2 separate regions of the Homo sapiens genome follow, and region 1 is linked to region 2. Evidence: promoter capture Hi-C in 16 types of primary human blood cells and fetal thymus (Javierre and others, 2016). All regions are on one chromosome and are shown on one strand. The core of a region is centred on a gene start or on the middle of the fragment in contact, and the rest is flanking DNA. Distances in the headings are between cores, read along the strand shown. Region 1 overlaps IRAG2 (inositol 1,4,5-triphosphate receptor associated 2). Region 2 holds the start of LINC02909 (long intergenic non-protein coding RNA 2909).

Region 1 (5,532 bases), core at 1,792-4,291, 60 kb before region 2:
TGGGTGTGGTGGCGCATGCCTGTAATCCTAGCTACTTGGGAGGCTGAGGCAGGAGAATCACTTGAACCTGGGAGGTGAAGGTTGCAGTGAGCCAAGATCATGCCACTGCACTCCAGGGCGAGACTCCCTCTCAAAAAAAAAAAAAAAAAAAAAAGAAAATACATTTTAGAGGTCATTCAGTCTGACCTCCTACTGATAAAGAAATCCTATCTCCAATAAGCCTCTGCTTGAGCCCTCAAATTACAGCCCTAGGATCCCAGAATCCTACAAGTAGATCTCAGATCATGAGAACACTGATGTGCAGACGATTGAAAAGGTAACTGGTAAATCATGGAGCTGAGATTAGACTCATGGAACAGAGCTTAACTCAGGGTATCATTCTGTGAAACTAAAAATATTTGTTTTTCTGCTTAAGTAAAATCTCTAAAGGTCTTATGCCTGGAATAATGGAAATGGGGGAAAAGTACCTAATATTTAACTAGCTCTTTGATGTACATAATAACATATTATTTATTTGACAAATCCTACTCTCTGAAACATAGCCAAAACCAGAAAATAAACCCAAATCTTTTGAACAACTAGAATAGATACTGATATTTATGCCCTTTATTCACGTGGCAAACCTCACACTTCAACTCAAGCAGTGGGCTCTGGGTATATACATAATTTTCACCAGTTTGACTGCCTTCTCAGCCCAAAGAAGATTAAAAGCAAAACTTAAACAAGGATATAAGGAGCTCTGCTAGATGGAAGCATATTAATAGCTACCACTTTTTTTTAAAATCACTAACAGCCAGGAAAATTATTAACAGCAGATACTCTGGCATCCAAAATACATAGAAATCTGGTGCTTCTTATTTTATAAACCAACAGTTTTATATCTTAATAGCCTGGAGAAATTCTGAGTCATGAGCATAATGCTAATGAAAAGAAGTACATAATCTAATTTTTAATTTTTTTCAGGAAAAAGGCTCTAAAAGCTTCAATTATGTAGAAAATTACCTATGTAAATTTTTTATTTTATAGGACTTTTTTTTGGTAAAAATAACTTACTTCTCAATCAAGCTTGACATAGTGTTACTAGGCCCACTAGGAGCAAAACAGATGTTTGTTTTTCAAACATCTCCCTCACATAGGAAGAAAAGCATATTTTTAAAAGAGTATTTCTAGGCTGGGTGCGGTGGCTCATGCCTGTAATCCCAGCATTTTGGGAGACCGAGGCAGATGGGTCACCTGAGGTCGGGAGTTCGAGACCAGCCTGAACAACATGGTGAAACCTTGTCTCTACTAAAAATACAAAAAAATTAGCCAGGCATGGTAGCACACACCTGTAGTCCCACCTACTCAGGAGGCTGAGGCAGGAGAATTGCTTGAACCCGGGAGGCGGAGGTTGCAGTGAGCCGAGATCAAGCCATTGCACTCCAGCTCTGGGTGACAGAGCAAGACTCTGTCTCAGGGGAAAAAAAAATAAGTATTTCTAACCTACAAAAGTAATTTAAAATTTATTTCTTATTAATACTTAGGACCCTGGTAAAGATGAAATTTTTAAAAAATTCTGTCTTAACTGTATTAAGAAGGAAGGCCCTGTGCTCCTTCTGATCTACATCTAAACAATAGCAACCAAAGCAATAAGAAGTGGCCATCGTGTGTTTCTGAAGGTCGTGTATCTCCAAAATACAAATTCAGAATACTATCTTACAATTGCCAATGAAGCCGTGTTTCAGAAGCGATGATGAGCTAGTATAAGATTGTCTAAATTGCCCATCTGCTTGCTCACCAGGCAATCTTGGGTTTTAGAAACAGTCTATCTTGAAGCATTCAAATTGAAAGCCTTATTTCAACAGATGTTTTGTGCAATGCATAGCAACTATTTCCATATTTTCCACATGGCAAAACAAGTTGGCTTATGACCACAATTTGCATTCACCTTTGCATTCTGCTTTACATGTTTGGAGTTGGACCTGTAATGCCTCTAGAACAAATATATGCTTCATATAGAAGGAAGTAAAACAATGGCTACTGTATCCCCTGCTGTTGCCATCTGCCATGTAGGATGGGACCAGGTGTCTTGGATACATTGCCTCTGAAGAAAGTTGAGATAAAGCAACTTTCTAAATGACTAAGCAATGAGGTCTCAGGCAAAGGCCCCACAATTAATTGCCTGTTGAAAATGAAAATTATAACATTATTAGAGCCGTTATCATGTTAGCTATCAATGATGGATGACATTTATAGAGTACGGGGCTTGTATAATACTATCTATACTGGAAAAAACCTCATGTTCTGTAAAATTGTATATTAAAAATATCAGGGTTCATTAAAGAACCCCAGACTAAGATCAACTATTCATAGCACATATCTGTCAAAGGACTTATATCCAAGAATAAAAGGACAGAAAACTTAATTTTAAAATGGGTGAAAGACTTAGACACTTCACAAAGAAGATATACAATGGCCAATCAGCACAAGAAAAAGGTCCCAACATCATTACATCTGAAAAATATATATTAAAATCACAATGAAATACCCATTTAGTAGAGTGGCTAAAATGACAAAGATTAACACTACCAAATACTGAAGATGTGGAACACTAAAACCACCCACACTGCTGGTGGGAGCGTGAAATGCTATAAAAACTACCGAAAACCATTTGACAGTTTCTTAAAAAGTGACAGTCACAGCTATGCTATGTCCTAACAGTTCTACTCCTAGATATTTATTCTAGGTGAAATAAAAACATATGTGCACACAAAGACTTGTACACAGACGTTCATAGCAGCTTTGTCCGTCGTAACCCCAAACTGCATATACTGCAGATATCCAATAACAGCAGGAAAAACAATCAAATTTTGGAATATTCATACAAGGAAATACAACTCAATAATAAAAAACTACTACTAAGAAACACAACATAATCCCATCATGCTGACAGAAAAAAGACAAACACACAAAAAAGTACATACTGTGTAACTGAGTTCTAGAACAGGCTAAGCTAACCTATCAGACCAGTGGTTGTTCCTTAGGGTGCTAGAGGTGGAGGCGGGGCATTGACTGGGAAGTTGCACAAGGGAAGTTTCTGGGGTGATAGAAATTCCGTGTTTTGATGTGTATTTATCTACCTGGTTGAATAGTATACTCGAGATCTGAACATTTTATGACATGTTAAATACATTAATAAAAAAGAAGTTAAAAGTATAAGAACAAAATAATGCAGGGATTATGAGAGAAATAGGGTTAAGAAGAAACCACTAAAAAAATACATGCAGCTGGGCAGAGTGGCTCATGCCTGTAATCCCAAAACTTTGGGAGGCTGAGGCAGGAGGATTGCTTGAGCCCAGGAGTTTGAGACCAGCCTAGGCAACACTGCAAGATCCTACCTCTACAAAAAATTTAAAAATTAGCCAGGCATAGTGGTGCTCGCCTATAGTCCTAGCTACTCAGGAGGCTGAGGCAGGAGGATCACTTGAGCCCAGGAGGTTGAGGCTACAGTGAGCCATGATCCCACCACCATAGTCCAGCCTGGGTGACAGAATGAGATCCTGTCTCAAAAAAAAAAAAAAAAAAAAAAAATCTGTCTACCTGTCTACCTACCTACCTACCTATCTGTATGTATGTGCAACACTGTAACCAGAGTACTAACAAACACACTTATTATTAGTACTAAGAAGATCACATGCATCACTCAGACATGCAACTTTAAATGCCTCACAGGATATTAGAAATACACAAAAACAAGAGAGTGGAAATGCTGGTGATGCTTTCACTAGAACAGTGGTGGTGGGGTGAAAGGCAAATGTAGATAGAGGCAGCGAGGCTAACAAGGTGAACACAGGAGGGAGTATGATTGGACACAGACCAGGGCTCTACAAGGCTGGGGTAGAGCCCTATAAAGTCCAGAGCCCTGTAGAACCCAGAGTGACTCTGGGGAGGGAGGCCCAGGTGCAGACACTTATTTTAATTTTCTCAAAATAAAGCTGAAAGGGTTCCTGTTGCCTGTTCAGCAGCCAAGCTAAGGACTTTTTCCTTTCCTGAGGAAGGTGAGAGTTCTATTCCTACCAATCCAGATCCAAGTGCCAAGAAAATCGTGAATGAAACAACATAATTTCTATACTATATAACCACAGCATTTCCCCATTTACAAATCACAAATGAGATGATTCATGTTATAGAAACGTATTCTAGCAGAACACAAATATCAACTGTGGCCAAGCATTAGCTACTATTTTGCATTTATTATGTTATTTATGTAATTCACAACAACTGCATTTAACCAAAGAGGATACTGAAGCTCAGAGAGGCAATGTGATTTGCTCAACTTTACCCAGCCACTCTTCTGTGGACTTTGAGTGAGAACACAGGTTTGTTAATTTCAAATCCCATGTTCTTAATCATTATACTATACTTCCCAGATTACTTCTCCATATCTGCATTTTTCATTTGGGAAAACTTGGGTCCCTATCCTATCAGAGTTGTTGAGCAAGCTGTATTTGGCTTTGGTTTTCTCCTTGGCCGTCACCCCAAAACCTTCTATCTTTAAGTATCTCAATCACCTGGATCCCTTCACCCGCCTTCTTTGGCTCATTTCCCTCCTGTTTACTGACTGCTTAGGACACGGCTTTCATCTTGAATCCATGCTCCAAGCCCTAAGGGTTTTACCTCTGCCATACCTCCCGCCCTCCATGCTAAGAATAGCAAGCTAAAAGAGTGTTTGCAGTGATATTATCTAGGTGAAAGTCTCCTCTAAACTAGGAAGTTCATGTGCAGATACTACGTTCAAATAAGAAATTATGCTATATCAGAGTTTCCCAGGATCTCTTTTCAAGGAAAAATTTGTGATTCTTAAAGGTAATTCTCTCATTGTCTATGAGAAGACTGACTCCATGAAGATTTCACGTCAGATGGGAACAAGAGATGGTGAATAGTAAGGGGGTGATAGTTTTGGATTGTATCAATTAGTCCATGATTTCTGTACATAAGATTCACCCTAATATGTTATATACACATCCTATAAGCTTTTAAAAATTTCCTTTTTAGATGAGTTCATGTCCTTTGTAGCGACATGGATGAAGCTGGAAACCATCATTCTGAGCAAACTATCGCAAGGACAGAAAACCAAACTCTGCATATTCTCACTCACAGGTGGGAATTGAACAATGAGAACACTTGGACACAGGACGGGGAACATCACACACTGGGGCCTGTCATGGGGTGGGGATAGGAGAGGTGTAGCATTAGGAGAAATACCTAATGTAAATGACGAGTTAATGGGTGCAGCACACCAACATGGTACATGTATACATATATAACAAACCTGCACGTTGTACACATGTACCCTAGAACATAAGTATAATAAAAAAAATTTCCTTTTTAAAGCAAACACTAATTATAATCCAGTCATGTGTCTATTAACAAGATACTTGGATATAAACAAAGTTTAGATGCAGAAGAAATAAAATATATAAGTAACCATTCAAGCAATTGAACAGTTTTCATGGCACATTTCTTGAAGAATATCATGCACATGAATTGCCT
Region 2 (5,418 bases), core at 2,405-4,904:
CTGCATAAGATTAACTTGTTTTGCTTTTTCTAATATAGAGCAGAACATGGGTGGGAGTTTAATAAATAAGATGGGGTGATAAAGATTTCAAAATTTGTGTCATCTTCTCCATATGCAGCTTGGAAATATCTCCTGTCTCTTCTGTCTAAACCTCTTAACGTCTTTTTTAATTTTCGATCCTGGTAGAAAGGATTAGCTGCAATCTGCCAGAATACTTAAAAATACAAGCCCAACTTGCTTTGTACAGTAACTGCCTTTGAAAAGGCATTAAGTGAAAATTAAGAACTGAAAGTGAATTGTACTAGGAGAATCAGTTGCTTGGAGTCTATCTCTTTTAAAAGGAATTTCCCTCTTAGCGATCTTAGTTGATTATTTACTACATAAAGATGGTACACTTGTAGATAACCCAATGGCAAGAACTGCTTCTTTTGCTTTCAAGTTCTATGAACCTCAGTTGCATTTTCCATGGTTTTTAAAATTATTTTTAATTTTGTAGAGACTGGGTCTCTGTTACCCAGGCTGTAGAGCCGTGGCTATTCACAGGTGTGATCATAGCACATTGCGGCCTCAAACTCCTAGGTTCAAGTGATCCTCCTGCCTCAGCCTCCCAAGTAGCTGGGATTACCACACCTGGCTCAGTTTGTATACTTTTAATTAAAATACATTTTTTTTTGATATGGTGCCCCCTCTGTCACCCAGGCTGGAGTGCAGTGGCACAATCTCGGCTCACTGGAACCTCCACCTCCCAGGCTCAGGTGATCCTCCCACCTCAGCTTCCTCAATAGCTAGGATCACAGGCACATGCCACTATGCCCAGCTAATCTTTTGTATTTTTGGTAGAGATGGGGTTTCCCCATGTTGCCCAGGCTGGTCACAAACTCCTGAGCTAAAGTAATCCACCCAACACAGCCTCCCAAAGTGCTGGAATTACTGGTGTGAGCCAATGTATCTAATATATTAAAGTAGTTTTAATATCCATCCCTTTAGACAGCCAACCAATATTTATTGAATTTCTGCTAAGTGCTAAGCCCTGTGCAAATACTGGGGATACAATGATGAAGAAAACAATATCCTGAAACTCGTAGTCTGTGGAAGATACAGCTATGAACAAGTAAGCCACTAGAGCTATTAGGTTAAATTTAGGAAGCCCAATAAAATTTTAATCTCAGATAAACAATGACTAATTTTTTAGTGTAAGTATGCCCCCAAATGTTGCACAGGACATAGTTATACTGGAAAATTATTTGTTGTTTATTTGAAATTCAAATTTCACTGGCTGTCTTGTATTTTTTTTTTTTTTAGCTAAATCTGACAACCTGAAAAATGTCAAATAAATAATTACATAGTCAGGAGCCATGAGAACCTATAATAGGAAATTATCCCAGCTTGGGAGTGAGGCTAGGAAAAATTTAGGAGCATCTATTATGTGGCTATTATATGCACTGCACAGAATGTTATACATATTGTTTGCTATTTCTAGGGTTATAAACAGAAAATTAAGAAGTGGAACTATAAATCTGTTAGAGGAATTTCCACTTGGATTCATGTGAGCTAAATGTAATGTAAAATGATGTTAGAGATTATCGATACTGCTTATGTTGCTAATCTTTTTTATTCCTCCTATTGATTGAACTATGCTTCATTGCTCTGGCTTATAGATTCTGAGTCCCATTATTATTATTGCCTCAATTATCTTGTTCCATACAGTCAAAGCTCTTGAATCAACACTTTTCAACCATCTGCCCGATCCAAAACTATAAAGCAACAAGTAAAATCCTCTAACACATGGCAACATCTGTAAAACAAGTCCGATTTGATTCTTACCTAAAGTTATTCGTTATATATTTGATTTTCACCACCAGTGTAACTGCAGACTTCAACATCAACCTCTAAGACATCCATACTCTTTGGGACTTATAGAAATCTACATTTGTTCTGACTTCAATGAGTTAATCTACTACGTATGTACAATGTAGACAATATTTCTTATTCTTTAGGAATGTATATGTAAACAACATGACATAATTTGTGTTTATCAACATCTATATTATTCAATCACTAAGAAAGTTGCATTTTATTGCAAAGAATGGCATATGATGTATACAGAGGTACAAAAGCAGCATCCTGGAAAAAGCTGGCAGATTTCAGGGTGATTCAAAAGGCTCTGTAGAAATCTTTCTGAATCAAATTCTAACTCCAAACAGATTAACAATGTAATTATCTTTCCTGTTTTTTTCCTTTAAAATGTTTTCCTCCCTTTACTAAAGTTATTTATTGAGCATTGAACTTCCAAACCTTAGATCAGGCAGGCTGATTTTTAAAATCATTCAAAACTTGATTAGGAAAGCCAGTCAATCATTCATGATTCATCTATGTGAGATCCTATTGGTAATTAATGCAAAATCCTTAATATACGTAAAAAAAAAAATTTAAGTATGTGTGTAGATAGACAAGAGATTCCTTTTGCCAAAACAACCCTTCACTAATGATTAGATGCCACTAAACTCTTCATCAAAACCTAAGAAGAAACATCTGTTCACTGAGACATTCCCAGGAAACCCATCTTTAGTGAGCTCAGTGGGAGGGCAGAGCATGGTTTTCTGCTTAACCAGTGAATTTTATATCTGCCAAATTAAACTGTTTTCATTCTCTTTGTGACTACTATTTTATGTGATAAAATAATAACACTTCTTCCTGCCGTTTCTAGGATAGATGATAGCAGCTGTTAATCACATGATTTGCAAACCACAAGTACCAGATTTAGTAAATGCTCAGCAAGTCTGTCATCCGCAACCTTTCTGATTATTAATAAATGCAAGCTGGTATAGGCTAGAAACTTTCCTCCCACAATTCAGTTAACCTTGTTATATTAAGCTTCTTGGCTGGGTCACACCAAGCTTACTATAAACATCTCTTATTGGAACAATTCCTAAAATAGCAGAGTGACACATGCTTCTGAAAACTGTTCTTCTGTCTCACTTCTTGTTATATGAAGTCTGGTTTTCTTCTCAGAGAACAAGAGAAGACCTACAATAAATCTCTAGCTTCAAGAATTCAGGTGCCTCCAAGGTTCTTACAGTCTATAAAACTACATCACTGCGTTTCACTAACACACATTCCAAACGACCAAGCCTGAAAATGGCAGGATTAATTTAAATTTCCAAAAGCTCCATTGAAAACAATTTGAGATTTGCCTGTGGTGACAGCAACATATCTGGGGAATCTCACTTTATCACTCTCAGCTACCCATCTTTTTTCCCTATTTGTAGAGTGTTTTTCTTTTCAGATTTGTTTCAAGTTTTCAATGAACTCTGTTGAACCTCTAATATAGACTTATTGGAGGTTTGTCCCTTTTGCCACAAGCATTTTGAGGTTGAGACACAACAGAACAGCCTACATCTGATATTGCTTTTCCCTGGTTAGGGCGGTACTTTCTCGGCCTTCGATGACTAAAGGCCAGCATCAGCCAAAATTTAATTATTTCGTTGGGGAAAACTCACCACCTTATTTTCGCTTGACTTCGCCAGTGCTCCAAGAACCATCTGAGAACTGGGAAGAAAGAGTGGAGACCTACAGGTCAGATGACATGGGTGGAGCCCATTTCTACAGAGTGGCTTGGGCTGAGGTAAAAGAAGCTAGAGAAGAGAGCCGCTGATGCACTGCACCTGCCTAGGCTGGAGTTAAGGTACTAATCACAGCAGCAGTGCTGGGAAAGATGCCTAGGAAGGATGAGGATGACAGGCACTATTTTGGTGTGCTCCCCACCACAGCAATAACAGAAAGATAGTCCAGGTGCAGTGTCTTTCACCTGTAATCCCAGCACTTTGGGAGGCTGAGGTGGGAGGATCGCTTGAGCCCAGGAGTTCAAGACCAGCCTGGGCAACATGGTGAGACCCCCCCCCACCCCCGGTCCCCGCCCGGCTCTACAAAAAACAACACACTAAAGCTCATCCTGATTATACTTTCTAATCAGATGAAGGAAAATTATTTTTAAGTTAAATCTCATACTTTTTCTTTTGTTTTTTGGAAATGGAGTGTTGCTTTGTTGCCCAAGCTTGAGTGCAGTGGCACGATCTCAGCTCACTTCAATCTCTGCCTACTGGGCTCAAGCCACTCCCCCACCTCAGCCTGCCAAGTAACTGAAATGACAGGGGCATGCCACCACAGCCAGCTAATTTTTGTATCTTTTGTAGAGATGGGGTTTTGTTGTGTTGCCCAGGCTGGTCTCAAACTCCTGAGCTCAAGCGATCTACCTGCCTCAGTCTCCCAAGGTGCTGGGATTACAGGTGTGAGCCATTGCGCTCAGCCTGGTCATTATCATTTCTATCACCAGGTGAGAGCAAAGGGGAGTCAAATACTGGGGAATAAGAACTGGGGCTCTGAGTTTAAATAACCTGAGTTCAAACCCCAGTTCTGCTGCTTACTAGCTTTGTGATCTTGGACAAATTATTTAACCATATGTGCTTCAGTTTCTTCATCTGTAAAATTGCATCAATATCATGCAATGACCTCCGGGTGTGCTGCAGGGATTAAATGAGGTTAATACGCAGATGGCCCTCAGAACCATGTAGCACATTCTGAGCTCTCAGTAATGTTGTTATGATGCACTTTCTGAAACTCCTTTAACTTATCCAATACTAGAGGTCCTCTTAAAGCACCAAATAGCACCTAGAAAGAAATGACCAAGTAACCCGCTCCTCTCATTAGATTTGCTGTTTAATTTCCCATGAAATAACCTATTATAACATCCATGCTTGCGATCTGCTTATCAATCCACAGATACCGAAACTGGCAACACCCAGAGACATTTCCCTCCTAGTCATAAAGGAAGCCAGCAGCAGAGCCAGAAATAATATTCAAATTCTGGATCCACTAGACCATATTGCCCGTCTGACAAATTATACGCTTACATCCTGCTTCAGGTGAGTCTAGTATACCTGATGTTTCTCAGAGCAGTGAAAGGAATAACCTGAACAATAAATTCCAACGAACCTGTAATGAATTGCATTAACATGTTATTTCATTATTTATGTAATATTACCTCCTGACAGTTCTAATAAGGTACCCACAATGCCGGGTTCTCTACCCACTGGGAGCAAACAAGGGAACGTGCAGACGCTGGACAGCATACGATGGATGCCTGCAACTCCTGTACCTGCCCCCGAATGCCACCAGAAATATGCCATCTCTACTGAAACAGCTTTTCCAACCCTGAGCACGTTTATGAACACGGAAAAGAGTGTAAAGGGGTCAAATGCAGACTTTACAAAAAGAAACCCAAGATGGAGATTCCTGTTCGGGATATACTGCAGGTGGGGTTCATAACAACATAGTCCTTTACTTGCCAAGTAATCTGAAAGCAACTAATTAGAGAACCTGTAAGGGATGCCAATCCCAGTTTTCAAAATGGCATTTCAA

The links. The method cuts DNA at HindIII sites, captures the fragments that hold promoters and counts their contacts. A CHiCAGO score of 5 or more calls a contact.
Region 1: a contact is called between a fragment that was not itself captured here and the fragment with the promoter of LINC02909 in region 2, in 2 of 17 cell types (total B cells and naive B cells). The highest score is 9.0, in total B cells.

The regions. Positions count from the first base shown.
Region 1 is chr12:25,055,291-25,060,822 of GRCh38, reverse strand. The region is part of intron 1 of IRAG2 (inositol 1,4,5-triphosphate receptor associated 2); the gene reads right to left. Among named protein-coding and RNA genes, the nearest start is that of IRAG2, 5.4 kb to the right of the region's middle. The HindIII fragment of the contact is 3,947 bases long and covers 1,068-5,014 here.
Region 2 is chr12:24,995,701-25,001,118 of GRCh38, reverse strand. It overlaps LINC02909 (long intergenic non-protein coding RNA 2909), which reads left to right and starts at 3,654. Exons shown (of 4, transcript NR_171024.1): 1 at 3,654-3,887; 2 at 4,780-4,922; 3 at 5,052-5,312. It also overlaps a transcript of IRAG2 not described here. RefSeq lists enhancers at 2,606-2,715, 2,966-3,095. The HindIII fragment of the contact is 1,157 bases long and covers 2,900-4,056 here.